Linked DNA regions of Homo sapiens: region 1 is linked to region 2. The links are contacts of gene promoters, found by promoter capture Hi-C in blood cells and fetal thymus (Javierre and others, 2016). All regions are on one chromosome and are shown on one strand. Each heading gives the region's core, a stretch centred on a gene start or on the middle of the fragment in contact. The rest is flanking DNA. Distances are from core to core; before and after follow the strand shown.

The links. Contacts are between HindIII fragments. The CHiCAGO score rates a contact against its expected background, and 5 or more counts as called.
Region 1: a fragment that was not itself captured here is called in contact with the fragment with the promoter of AQP9 in region 2 in 2 of 17 cell types (M2 macrophages and M1 macrophages); the score reaches 5.7 in M2 macrophages.

Annotation. Positions count from the first base shown.
Region 1 is chr15:58,069,957-58,072,674 of GRCh38, forward strand. It overlaps ALDH1A2-AS1 (ALDH1A2 antisense RNA 1), which reads left to right. Exons shown (of 3, transcript NR_147215.1): 3 at 852-2,718. Among named protein-coding and RNA genes, the nearest start is that of ALDH1A2, 5.6 kb to the left of the region's middle. The HindIII fragment of the contact is 767 bases long and covers 933-1,699 here.
Region 2 is chr15:58,137,072-58,139,771 of GRCh38, forward strand. It overlaps AQP9 (aquaporin 9), which reads left to right and starts at 1,310. Exons shown (of 6, transcript NM_020980.5): 1 at 1,310-1,605. The coding sequence starts at 1,495. The HindIII fragment of the contact is 735 bases long and covers 790-1,524 here.

The sequences.
Region 1 (2,718 bases), core at 66-2,565, 67 kb before region 2:
TGACAGTAACCGAATGTCCAGCTTGAATGTCAAGTTTCTATGTTTAGGGGCTGTTTCAGCCTCAGGTGGCCCTGCTTAATTGCTTTCCTGTTCCCATTACTAACCATGATGACAGCCTACCTTTCCTAACAGATACACTTGCATTTTAATTTATCTTCAAAAATAAATCACACATTATAGCATTCCCCTCTTCTGGGCTAATTGAATCAGTTCCTTAAATGTCTCTACATCTAATGATTTGAAAGAGGCACATTGTTTGAAATATTTAAAAAATTAGGGCCCTCAGGTTGTATGCAGAATGATCTCAGTGCTTATTTCAGATATAAGTGTTTCCTAATGATCTCATTCATCTCAAATGGGATATGCCTGGCCACTTTATTTGAAATGTTTCCTGAAAACTCTAACAGGAAAGCTTAATGCAAAATATATTTATAGAGAAATGGTATTTAATTTATTAACAAAAGCTTATAAAGAGCTTTACATATTTTTATCCAGAAATGCTTAATGAAGTATTTGGGACCCATTATGAAAACTTCTATAAAATAAATCCACTTATATTTTTATTTAACCTGTATATTAACTTTTTATGTGAGATCTAAACTCTCATTTAATTATCCTTTTCCTTCTAACATCCAGAAGAAAAGAGGCTGAGACTGTGGTATTTATTAACCATAAAAATTCTCTAGATATTAAGTTCCTCATTTCTTGATATGGCCTCTGGTCACTATATTCTATGAGAAGAGGTATTTGGAGTTGCAGGGAGTAGAGTCCTAATTGGTTATGACTCAAAAAACTATGTTTTGATACAAAACACAGTTCTTTTCTTTTAAAATATACCCTCTACTTTTCAGGGACCCCGGAGACTATTTTAAACATGGGAACTAGATTTGCCTTTGTTGTAAGGCCCAGTTCCATTTCGTATATGTTCGAGAAGCTTCAATTTGGGTACTGGGATGAGCGCAGTACTTCATCAATAATCACACTTAACAGACAGGAAGAAATTAAAATTCCAGCTGCACCGCCTTTTCTGAAGGGCCTGAGGGAAAAGGCATTGGCGCCCCCTGCAGTTGATGGTGTGTATGTGCAACTGAGTATTGTCCATTCAAATAGCTTGGATTCAATGTATTTTTATCTGATACTGGTGAGAAATCCTTAAGAGATGTTATCATTTAATTTGAATTTGTCTGGAGAAAAAAAATCTCCTAGAGTCAGACAAATTTTAGATTTTAGTTAGTTTAGGAGGACTTTCTTTTGACTTACAGGAAAAGAACAAAAGTGTTTCTTAGCCAAATTTACCGTAGAAAGTGCAATACTGAGAACACTATGGTCCCACTCACATAGTGTTCAGAGCACTCTGTCACAGAGGAAGTTGCATGAGTGTGTCTCAGATTGGAAGCTACTGTTTTTATCTTGTGGGTGAGGAAGAATTATTAATAGACAGATTCCAGAATTTATTTCTCTTCTCGCTCAGTTAAGGACTTGGCGTGTAACTAAGTTGTCTGCTTTTTTCTTTATTTCACATTTCTTAGCTTTCCTTTTTCCTTTTACCCTTCTAAAATCCGTCAATTCTACAAATAACTCCTGTTATTATTAGGTTGGTGCAAAAGTAATTGCGAGTTTTGCCATTTAAAAGTAGTGGCAAAGGCCTCAGTTACTTTGGCATCAGCCTAATACTTAACATAGGACCCTCCGATTCCTAAGCTTCCTCCCCAAGTGCATCTGCGCTTATACAGCCACTCAACTCACAGGATCTTTGGACATAAGGAATTCTCACATGAACTTTGGCACTATTCGGGGCAGGGATCTGTATTTATATTCATTAGAAAATGAGGCTAAGTGAACTGTCTCTCTCTTTTTACATGCTGAAATGGGCCACTGAAAAGATAACGAGGAACACTTTAGACGTCCTGACAACAGAGGAGGCATGGCAGCCTCTTTTGTCTCAACCAAACGGTTTGCTGTGTGAAAGGCATAGAGTAAAACTGGGAGGCATTTAGGGCTGGAATAGGTACCCAATTTGGACATCTACCACCAAATGGCAAGGAGCGGTCTTGCTTCAGGCTGTATAACCCCACTTTCAGAGCATCTGTGTTTTCCTGACTGCAGTTCCTAAACCTGGATTTTTTTTCTCTGTCAGTCATCTAAGTTCAATTGAACAAATATTCATTGAGCATATACTATGTGCCAAGCATTGACAAAGAGTCTATGAAGAACCCAACGGAAGTTTGTGGCACATCCCTACCCTCAAATTCACAGTGAGGGTGGAATGACAGTAACCAAATCTGTGAAAATATTCACATGAGACAGGAAAGAAGTCAGAATATCCAGTGTACAATGAGAGTGAAAGAGGATGTCTAAAAGGGGACAGCCCATTCACAACCCACACACAACCCACGCACAAATATTTTTGGGGGGGCCTCCCATGGGCATTTATAATCTTCTAAGTGCTCCGAAGAACATGTGTCACAAAAGATGAAGAGAATATTTTCCAGAACATAGCCCAACAAAGAACTTCTTTGACATTTTTTAGTGTAAAGGTAACTGACGGTATCTACCAAATTAGCAATTTGTAAAACTGGAATTTCTAAAAGCAAATACTTGGAGCTGAGATTACCTCCCACTTCCCAAATTCGAGTTATATGATCTCAAGTATAATACCCTTTGGTATAGACCTAGCCAGAAGAGATAATAGAGGTGAAAACAAGGGCAGCTTATTTT
Region 2 (2,700 bases), core at 60-2,559:
GGTTTTGTCCTGGTTCTGCAGTAGTGTGGCCTCAGGCAGGTTATAACTTTTTAAAGTCTAAATTCTAAATGTCACCTACAGATGAGAAGTCTCCTTCTGCCTTTGGCCTCTCACCAGCTGCTTTCTCCATGTCCTCTCCTCCCTCCCTTTTTGCAAAGCTAGGGGAGGGCCTGATGCAGAGCTGGCTTCCCTGTGGGAGGACTGGAAGGAACCACACAGCATGGATACTAATTCCATGAGTCCACATTGGTAATCAGAAACTAGGCCTGCCTTGCTATTTAGAAACTAATGCTATATTCTATTTCTTCAGATAAGCCAGTTTTGAAAAACAAGGCTTGAATATTTGGCAGGACAAGGAGCTACTCCCAAACACAGTTTCTTGCCAGCAAGGATGTCAATTTATCAAATTGAAAGGGTATAACCTAGGAGCCTCGGTTAGGTGTACTGGCTCCCTTTCTCGTTTGATTAGAATGACATACACGCTAATTGATCTCTTTCCGGCTCAGTCATCTCCATGCAGTAAAGAATTTCAAGCTGCTATTGTTTATTTCCTATGTATTATGTCTAAATATTTCATGGTGAATGAAGAAGAGTGACTATTTTCAAACTGGAATGCTTCTTCAGAAGAAACCCAAACTGGAATGTTTCTTCAGAAGAAACTTCAGAAGTCACCAAAAAGGTGACTCCTCCATCTTTCTGATTCTTGGATCCTAAAGTATCTTCAGCAAGTGAAGCCCAGTTTCATAACCGAAGAGGTGACTCCATCTGTCCTACAGACTTGCAGTGTGAAGCTTGCAATGGTTTCTCTGTATGTTAATTTCTCCATCTCTAGGATGGCCTATGTGGTTCTTACTAACCTCAGAGTGGTATCATGAAGCCACTGAAATGATACCAGAAGAAAACAAGAGTGATTAATCTTCTAGGATGATAAATCTATATTTTCTTCAAATTCTTCATTTTGCATAAAAACCTTTTTCAGAAAAGAATGTTAACATTGGATATATCTACACCTGATTTGACAGTTCCAAACTACACCCCAACCACCCACTTCTGAATGAGAAGAAAAAAAAATCAGAAGCCTGCAATTGTGTAACATGAAAATCTTTTCTGGACCAGGGCCCGTCACTGTGATTTGGCAACACAACTGGCACATCTCTTTTCTCATCTCTTGAAAAAAACCAACAGAGAAAAAAGTACCTTGAGAATAAAGGTAATGATTAATCTGTCAGGCACAAAAGGGATTGTTTTGGGGATTTCGGGTTCTAAGTCGCAGATTCAAACAAATAGCAGCGAACAGGGAATGACAGTTCCACCAGAAGACGATTAAGCCACAGCCTCTAATTGGAACGGCATTTGTACAGTCAGAGACTCTTACCAGACATCTCCAGGAATCTGTGAGCCATTGTCAAAACGTCCATTTTCATCTGGCTGTGAAAGTGAGGACCACAACAGGTAGGTATTGGTAGAAACAGGAGTCCTCAGAGAAGCCCCAAGATGCAGCCTGAGGGAGCAGAAAAGGGAAAAAGCTTCAAGCAGAGACTGGTCTTGAAGAGCAGCTTAGCGAAAGAAACCCTCTCTGAGTTCTTGGGCACGTTCATCTTGATTGTAAGTATTTCCTGATTTCCTACATTCAGACCCAATAATGCCTCCCTAGCTGCCAGGCTGGTAGTGGAGAGTTTTGTTTGGTTTGTTTTATTTAAGTTAATTGGGATCAGATTCATCTTTTCCAGGAAGAAACAAGTTACTAGAGGCTGTTTGACTATTTAGGGGTTGTGATATTAAGTTTTCAATTACCTATTGCATTTACCCACAAAAGTTGATGGGAATGGAAGAGAAGGAGTGAGTGAAGTGCCTTCTTTATTTCAGGTATTTACTTATACTCTAAAATGGCTTTGTGATTTAAAAGTCAGTCGTTAGTGTTTTCATTGATCAATTGATTTGTACCCTGCTTGCTTCCTCCAAGCATTGGGGTGACTCAGCCACCTGGAATAAGCATCAATAGTCAATAAATATAGTTGGCAAAAATATACATATGGATGGCAAGAAACATCTCAGTATGACAAGTACTTGACAAGTATTGTGCTGTCAGATCACTTGATTTTTAAGAAATTAAAAATTGCACTAGGTAGAAATAGTGTACCAGGCAATAGTCCAGCTTTAGTTTTGTGTCATTTTTGGTCTCTATTTAAAGCAAAGTAATCTCTAAATATCTTTGGAGATTTACAAGACAATTACAAGAACCTTCTAGATATAAACGAGGGACGACTTCTAAGAACCTCTTGAGGATTGCCCAGAGATTTACTCAGCTATTAACAAGAGACTGGAAAGTTTACTTAAGTGGTCTGGGCTTTCATTTTGCTGCACGTTCTAGCATTCTCTGTATCCTGAAGTTTTACCTGGAACCAGGCCATTTGTGAATAGAAATGTATTATCATGTGGCAACTATTGATTTCAACTGGTTTTTTTTATCCTGCTTAAGGATTTCCTACTCCAGGTATAAATAATTTCATTTTCCTTAAAGTTATAGAGAATAGCCCATAAACTCTGTGCATTAAAAGTTCTTTGCTTGGGGCAAATACATAATAATTTAGAAGAATAAGCTTGGAATGCATCAGCTAAGCCAAGAATGAGAAACAAATGTGAACTCAAAAAATTGAACTAGTGGAATGTGAAGAGAGAGTCATAAGTTTTCTGGTCTCT